Regions from separate parts of the Homo sapiens genome. Here region 1 is linked to region 2. The links are contacts of gene promoters, found by promoter capture Hi-C in blood cells and fetal thymus (Javierre and others, 2016). All regions are on one chromosome and are shown on one strand. The core of a region is centred on a gene start or on the middle of the fragment in contact, and the rest is flanking DNA. Distances in the headings are between cores, read along the strand shown. Region 1 overlaps CFH (complement factor H). Region 2 holds the start of B3GALT2 (beta-1,3-galactosyltransferase 2).

Region 1 (4,776 bases), core at 1,094-3,593, 3.5 Mb before region 2:
ATTTTTGTTCATTAGGTTTTCTATCTATCTCCCCACATCAAAATGTAAGCTCCCCACAATTGAAGAACAATGTTTTTCATAGTTCGTGGAAGAATTTTCATTAATGTCTAGGTCTTCTCACTTCAGATACACTTTCCTGTCTGCTTTTGTTCTAACCATTATTGTATTGAGTATTATTGAGATAGGAGATGGGACTTGGACACTGGACCAAATTGAGGATTATCCAAAACAGGTCTGAGTGGAAGCCCCTCCCTGTAAGACACACAGACCAGTGTGCTATGACAGTTTACCATTACCATGGCAACACCCAGAAGTTACAGGCCCTTTCCACAGCAATGACCCAACAACCGGAAGTTACCATCCTCCTCCTGGCAATTTCAGCATTAACTACCTCTTAATTTCCATATAATTAAAAGTGCATATAAATATGAGTGCAGAACTGCCTCTGAGCTGCTACTGTGGGCACACTGCCTATGGGTAGCCCTGCTTAGCAAGGAGAGGTGCCTCTGAGGCTGCTATACACTGCCACTTCAACAAAAATTGCTGTTTAACACCACAGGCTCACCCTTGAATTCTTTACTGGACAAAACCAAGAACCTTCCCAGGCTAAGACCCAATTTGGGGGCTTGCTGTCCTACATCATTATCAACTCATGCCATAGCAAAAGTATTTAAGGTAATGATTCACTGCACTGAGTTCTAATAATAATTAGGTATATCTTGTGACATAACTTTTATTTGCCTGAATTGACTAACAATCGAATGTTCAAGCTCAGTTGAACCACCTTCAAGTAGACAACAAACGGTTATTTTGGCCCAAGTAGTCAAACTCTCAGCATGTATGTACAACGGGCTTATTAAATAGGATGCATACAAATTGAAAGGCACAGAAACATTTTTTTGAGATGTGATTTATCTTAAAACTAAAAGAAATAGCCATCTCATTTTTCTCATTCTAGATTAATGAGTAGACTAAGCCATCATATCTAAGTATTTGAGTTTAAACAATGAATACTTCATCTTACGTTTACAAGTCATTTAATTGCCAGTTAATTTTGTTTACAAAACACTACATTGGTGAAGCTTTAATTCATTTGGCTTTATTTTACAATTTAAAATTAGTTTTAGTCTGGATGCAGTGGGTCATGCTTATAATCCCAGCACTTTGACATGCCAAGTCAAGAGGATCAATAGACCCCAGGAGTTCAAGACCAGCCTGGGCAACGTGGTGAAACCCTGTCTCTACAAAAAATTTTAAAAATTACCTGAGCAGGCCGGGCGCGGTGGCTCATGCCTGTAATCCCAGCACTTTGGGAGGCCAAGGCCGGCAGATCACCAGATCACGAGGTCAGGAGATCCAGACCATCCTGACTAACACTAACACGGTGAAACTCCGTCTCTACTACAAATACAAAAAAATAGCCGGGCTTGGTGGTGGGTGCCTGTAGTCCCAGCTACTCGGGAGGCTGAGGCAGGAGAATGGCGTGAACCCGGGAGGCGGAGCTTGCAGTGAGCCGAGATAGCGACACTGCACTCCAGCCTGGGCGACAGAGCAAGACTCCATCTCAAAAAAAAAAAAAAAAAAAAAATTACCTGAGCAAGGTGGCTGTAATCCCTGCTACTTGGGATGCTTAGGTGGGAGGACTGCTTGAGCCCAGGAGGTCGAGGCTGCAGTGAGCCATGATTGCACCAGTACGCTGCAGCCTGGGTGACAAAGTGATTCCCTGTCTCAAAAAAGTAAGAATAATACTAAACAAAATCAAGTTTTTTTTTAGCCCATGAATTAAGAGTGTGAATACGTTTAACTACTGGTAAAGAGTAGGAATGTTTTTACTATAATTTGAGGAAAATAGTTATATAATTTTGGTCAAAGCTAAAAATCAATATTACTTAATATTTTAATAATCTTAATTTACCTAATTTTTTCACTTTCAAATTTTAAGGGGGCATTATTGACATACAAACACCAAGCTAATTACTTATTATTGACATACAAACATAGAACTAATTACTTATTTTCAATGTCAATATATCTTTTAACTGTTAGTTGAAAAGTGTTTTTATTCAAATGAAATAAATCATGATAAAATTATATATTTGGGAAATCCTTAATCAAATTTGTGCTAGATTGTTTTGGTAGACTAAAGTTGGTCTCTTTGTTCAATTATTCTATTTTTCTAAAATTATTTTGTGCATAAAAAACAGTAGATATTATTTTTTAAATAGCCTACTTCTAAACTTAGTAGGTATCAGAATATATTATAAAGCAAAGTTACAAAATCAATTTGGAAAAAAATAAAGCAAATGAACAAAACAGAAATAGCAAAAATAGGTATTTTGCATTAAATTTCTTTCTTATCTTCTCACTGATCTATAGTAATACTATTTATTCAATAATCCTTTGGCTTTGGTATACACAGGGGATATATATTCCAGGACTCCCACACAGGCCAAAATCTGCACATACTTAAATTCTACATTTGGCTCTCTGGAAACCGCATGTACGAAAAGTCAGTTTTTCCTATGCTTAAGTTTTGCAACCCACCAATACTGTATTTTTGACCCAGGTTTAGTTGAAACAAATTCACATAGTAAGCAGACCCCTGAAGTTCAAGCACATATTGGTCAAGGGTCAATTCTATATGCATATATACGATATGATCTAATTAGCTTTTCAAAATAAGAAATATTCAAATTATTTTATAAATAACATGAGAATAAAGATCATTTCAGAAGTAACATATATACCTTTGTAAACAGAGTAAAGAATTGTTTAAAGAAACAAACTCTAGAGACAAAGCAGAATAGAGATTATGTCACACTTAATAGGCATTTGAGAAAGAAAAAGAAAAAAGAAAAGAAAAAAATTTAGCTAGGTGTGGGAGGCTGAGGCAGGAGGATTGCTTGAGCCCAGGTGTTGGAAGCTGCAGTGAACTATGATCGCACCACTGCACTCCAGCGTGGGCACTCCAGCCTCAGGCAACAAAGCGAGATCCTGTCTCAAAACAAACAAACAAACAAACAAACAACTTAACAGTGAAAAGAGCAAGAAGAAAATTCCAGAACCATAAAAAGCAGATAGGAGAATAGACGATAGTCACATGAAGTTGGATAGAATAACAAGTATGTCATAATTAGAGATAAAACAAGATACTATCAGAACATGGGTTGAAATTCCACAACTTTCTTGAAATGTGTATTTGAATAGCTAATTTCTAATGCCAGTTATTGTTCCAGTCACAAAAAACGAACTCAGCCACAAAGAGACAGTACAATTAGGACCCTGAAAATAGAGAAAAAAAAAAAAAAACGCAACACACATTGTACCAAGTATTACTAAGTAGTACTTGTGGAAGTTAAAGTGATGGAAAAATGAATGAGCGAAAGAACAGATGAGTAACAATGAAACTATCTGGAAGCCTTTCCATTATATCTGTAGATTATGGACAGCCTGTGGAAAAAGCGTAGTAGACAGTAGTGACTAGAAAATATAAGAGAAGACAAGGTGATAACTGTTTAGTGCACTTAAAACTCTGTTGCAAGAACCCAGGAAACTCTAACATTTGTAATTCCATTGTACATCTGACCTATGTGTCCTAAGCTTAAATTTATGTTACAGTTCAGGAGTTTCTGAAAGAATATTGCTTTTTCCTTTTCTTTCTTTCTTTCTTTCTTTTTTTTTTTTTTCTTTTTGAGATGGAATCTCCCTCTGTCGCCCAAGCTGAAGGGCAATGGCATGATCTCAGCTCACTGCAACCTCCGCCTCCCTGATTCAAGCAATTCTCCTGCCTCAGCCTCCTGAGTAGCTGAGATTACAGGCACGCGCCACCACGCCTGGCTAATTTTTGTATTTTTAGTAGAGATGGGGTTTCACCATTTTGGTCAGGCTGGTCTCGAACTCCTGACATGGTGATCCACCCACCTGGGCCTCCCAAAGTGTTGGGATTACAGGTGTGAGCCACCATGCCCGGCCTGGAAGAATAATCACTTTTCTATCTATTACATTTCCAGTTAACAAGGTTTATGAAAAACTTGGCTAAGTTAAAATGTCAGAAGAAATAAAAGTGTTCTGTCAAATGTTTTTTCTTTCCTTTTTATTGTTTCATTTTTTGATGTTCAGTTACTTTATTTCCTCTGAGCTATCTTTTTATGACTCCTTATAATTTTAAGCTAAAATGCAATACTTTTTTGTCAATTACATCATCCCCTTTCCATGTACTATGGTTTTGTGAAGAAATGGGTAAAGTACACGTTAGTTAACTGAGCACGGGATAGATTGGGTGGCAGAATCTCAAAGGCCTAGGCAGGTGGGGGATGGTGTGTGTGGGGAGGAGGAGAAGGCATAACTGGGAAGAATGAAAAGTGGCAAAAGACTGCAGAATAAACAATCGAGGATTAAGCAAATAAAAGTGGGTCAATGTAGACTGGCTCAGATCTTAGAAACCAAAGGCCACACATGAAGAACATTTACCAATCTGCTTTTGAACTTATATTTGGGAACTTACTTCTACCTAAGAATAATTTTAGTTAGCAATACTTAGATATTTCATTTTTAGTTTAAATTATATGTAGGCAAAAGAGTAGCATATGCATTCCCAGGATATGCCTAAATTTAAAATAAGCAAAGCTTGCCTTGGCAGACGTCTCAGGCTCGTGCCATTTCTGTGGGCATTTTCTCTACCCCTTCTCTTATAGCACTCACTATAGCACTTCAACCAGCAGATCTGTCCTACCTGGGAAAACCCCATCTTCCAGAATCACTTTGTTCTATTCTTAT
Region 2 (4,282 bases), core at 685-3,184:
AATCAATATGTACCTGTTGAAAAAGTGAAAATATAAACATTCATTTATTATTCTATTAATGATTCCTGGGTATGCTGCGCCAGTGTTCAGAAAAAAAAAAAATCCCACAATTTCTCTAGCAGTGCCATGTAATAAAAAGTTTAAGAACAGAGAATAATGATAGTACTAGATAGATTTAAAAAGAAAACAAAAACACAGAGGATAAGAATTTAGATAATCTTGCTTCAATTCCCAGCTTGGCCTCTATTCTTATCAGTATTTATCTGACATTTGGACTATTTTACAACTCCAGGCACTGGTTCTGCATCTTTTAAGTGGGTATTACAATAATAAAATTATTAGAAAAGAGCCATTTGCATAACAGCTCAAGTAAGCTTAGCACGCAATCTGATTTTCAGTAAATACTCCATAAATGGTCATTGTGGCTAGCTTCATAGTCAAATCCTATGTAAAGAATCACTGATAAATAAATACTGATCTACAAAAACACATCTGTACTTCTGGAAAATAAGTTATTTTAAGTAAGTTCTTAAGCATTACTCTGTTAACTAGTAAACTAATTTTAAAAACAAAACGGTAGTGAGTGAGAATTGCAGTATGGGTGGATATAGACTACAAGGAAGTTGGGTTTTAGTCCTCTCCTTCAAACTTAACTAGGAAAAGTCAAAGCTCAGTCTAGGCTTTAGGTTTCCTATTTATAAAATTCTTTTTTTTCTTTAACGATCCTTCTAACATTTCTAATACAGTGGGGTTCTTAAAACTACAAAGCACATTTCATCAGCAAAGCTCAAAAATATGTGGACAAAATTTTTTTTAATATCAGAGAAAACAAATTCATATTCATTTGAAATAGCATATATTAATGGTGGAGGCAGTGAGATGAAGAATATGTATATAACTGTTAACCTTTAGCTTAAGCTCCAAAACTATAACTTTCTAGGACTGAATTACTGTCCCTAGAGTCACAGAGGAAAAACTGATAATAAAGGCTTTTTACTACAACAAAAAATTTAAAAAAACCTTCCCTACTGCTCTGCAGTAAGAAAAGAAGGTGCCAGCCCCAGAAACTAACCATATTAGAAAAATCTCAGTGAGTGTGTAGTGTTAATAAAATCTGCCTCATGGCAAGTTATTAAATCTTTCTGAAACATTAGAATAAGTAAACATAATTAGTAAAATCTCATTACCCCCAGATCCTGTACAAGTGTGCTATATCTATTACATCATTTTACTGAATTCTACGATACATGTAATTTTAAAGGGAAGGAAAAATAAATAAAAAATAAATGACAACATTAAAAAGTGATTTAAAATAAAGTTTTCTGCCATCAAGAACACCAAAAACCACATAAGAGCAAAAAAGAAGTGGGCTGTATCACATCATGCATTAGTAAAGTAATCCAAGACAGCTTATTTATACAAACCCCAGAAAACGGGGGGGGGGATCTAAATTACAAAGATACATGGTTTCAATAGAAACCATAGGTCTTAACTACATATTAGTAAAAAATCAAGAGCAATTTGAAAGCAGAGAAAAAAAACTTCAAGAAGAGAATGCACTGAAGGGGTTAAATTACACCAACTTACACACAAAAGCTTATACTGCTTACACCCTACAAAAGCATGTAAGAAACATGAAAACCAACATCTAACACAGAAAACACTTAGAAAGCCTGTACTTAAGAATAAAGTTAAAAAAGGAAGTAAGCTGGAAAAAATAAAATCATAACCATTTCATAATCATCACATTTTCAAATTATTCACTCATCACTACACTTGCATTCAACATATATAATTTATCACATAAAAGCAAAATCTCTAAGCTTCTCCCTACCTTAGGTTTTTAGTCAAAATGAATGCAAACAATCACGTGGGATTCAGCCAAGCAGTGACGTTAAATTCTGCTCTGTCAGAGAGAGCATCTGTCAAGCCCACATTTAAACTGCTGCCTGCCTGTGCAGCAGCTGAGGAACCGTGGATTTCATATTATAGACTAAAACCCCATTAAAACTGCTCAAAATCCTTCCTGCAGCTGCCAGGCAACAACGAAAGAAGAGAGGTAAATCCTATTCTTTTCCAATACAACTGAAGCACTACATTTTAGCTCTGGCTGCTTTACATTGCAGCTCAGTGTTATTAGTAGAAATATGGATACTGAGACGAGAACACAGCACTGCATTGTCCAGCCAGGAAAATAGCAGATGTAAAAAGCTTCAATGCATCAACTGTCGGGAAGAGTCAACAGTGCTACAAGCAGAACGGGCAACTACAGCTCTTTTGTTTAACGAAAGAGAGAAAATGAAAGAAAGGGAAAATTTCAGAAGACTAGGACCCATATGAACAAGGAGGGTAACTCGAAGACAAGCAGACAGATGGACACTTTGGATACTGTGAAAAGCAATCGCAGGAGGCAGACTGTTGGGGGATGTGCGCATGTTCGATAGCATCTTTTTTGCTGAAGTGATGGCGTGCCAAAAGTATTTTCAGTGGGCATAATCCTCTTCACATAAATGGCCTGACCAAGGAAGGTATGTCAATATCTTGTGTATGATAGTCATTTAAATGTGTTACCTTTTTATAGCCCTGGAGGCACTAATACCTGATAAGCAAGTTCATACAGCTCACTGCCCTTGAAACTATGAAAAGGTTTCTTAATATCTGATTTTAAAATTTGTCATTGTTTAGAAGACAAGCTGTCACTGCTTTATGCAGCTAAATATGTAGCTTGGAGTAATTCTGGGTAATAGACATCAGAGGGAAAAGGCAAATAAGAAGAAGATGTGTTTAAAGGATTCCTTAAGAAATTAAACTTAAAAAAAAATCTGTAGCCCTTTACAAAAAACACAGCAATATTCTATCAAATTAGGTCAAACTGAATCCTTATCTAGTAAATTAAATGCTCTCTTAAAAATGGCTATCAAAAGACACAATGCAGTGAAATTTCATTAAATAGTAGCAAGGAAAACCTTAAGAGTTTTTTTTTCAAAGTCCTTTTAAAACAAAACCTTAATATGTAACAGCTTTTAGTAACAAAATCTTCCCCAACATCTCCCTAAATGAAGATAATGAACACAACCAAAGAGAGTATCAACAAATTTTAAATATTACCAAGCTACAAGAAGATACTAAAAGGAAAGCATTAACATAAGATCACATAAGGTAGTGTGAGTTTATGCATAACCCCACAATAGAGCCTCGTGTTATTATAGTGACCATGAATAGAACTTTAAACAAAGGGACATCAATAGTGGCTTTAAAAATTAACTATTTTAAATAGCTTACATTTTATGTAAAAGACTGATTCCAAATGATCAAATTTAACGTTGTCTCTGATTATCATTTCAGAAGTGAAATTCAAAAACATAATATGGAAATACTTTGATACAAAAATATCCACAAATGGCAATACAAGGTCAAAAAATTAAATATAAATGTAGCTACTATGCTTCCAGGCTATATTAATATGCAGTAATGAACTACCGCCACTATATGTGTGTGCAGGGCACAGATAAACCAAATAAACTATTTTAGCAACAATCATAGAACAGCAACTCAGGGCTCAAGAACTTAAAGATATTTCTAAAATTCTACAAATCTATCAAAGATCCTGATTTTTCCTCAATTTCACAACACAACTCAGTAATTATCTAATAATCACAAAAGGCAAACATTTTTTAAAAATATGTAAGTACTGCATTCCAAAATGAAGATTAAACAAGTTTACCAGACTCTATTACACCTCAACATCACTCTCACCCATGAATTTTTATTCTAATAAAGACTAATAATAAATAGTACTAAAAAATATGGTTGTAAAAATTTCAAGTCCCTCTTGGTACCTTAATCTCTCAATATTGAAGTCACCAATTAAGCAGTTTTATAAGCTATACATCTCAAAACAAAAGTGTAAGTTTTTCTATTAAACCATCACCAACAGACTAAAGAGATCAACACTTTTAAAAGCCAAATGATAAAAACTGAGTGTGTACTGAACAGCATTTTACAGTAACATTCTCCCCATGAACTTCATCCACAAGCTATAAATACACATTAATAATGTGAAGATATCAAAAAAGAAGAGATAAACCAAAGCTATTTCTCTTCTAAAAATGTAAAAGTGCAGAACTATTTTGCATACTACTGAACTTTCTTGTTTTGCTCTCTCTTTTTAAGAATTAAAATACAACAGGCAATAACTGGAGAATAATTTTATCATTTAATAAAAAGCAGGCATGGTTATTTTAATTTTATATTCTTTTTAACAAAAAAATTTATAAGACCT

Evidence for each region. Contacts are between HindIII fragments. The CHiCAGO score rates a contact against its expected background, and 5 or more counts as called.
Region 1: a fragment that was not itself captured here is called in contact with the fragment with the promoter of B3GALT2 in region 2 in 2 of 17 cell types (M2 macrophages and M1 macrophages); the score reaches 10.4 in M2 macrophages.

The regions. Positions count from the first base shown.
Region 1 is chr1:196,655,220-196,659,995 of GRCh38, reverse strand. All of the region lies in intron 1 of CFH (complement factor H), which reads right to left. Among named protein-coding and RNA genes, the nearest start is that of CFH, 5.6 kb to the right of the region's middle. The HindIII fragment of the contact is 2,518 bases long and covers 1,085-3,602 here.
Region 2 is chr1:193,184,265-193,188,546 of GRCh38, reverse strand. B3GALT2 (beta-1,3-galactosyltransferase 2) reads left to right here and starts at 1,934. Exons shown (of 2, transcript NM_003783.3): 1 at 1,934-2,528. All of the region lies in intron 10 of CDC73 (cell division cycle 73), which reads right to left. The HindIII fragment of the contact is 388 bases long and covers 1,826-2,213 here.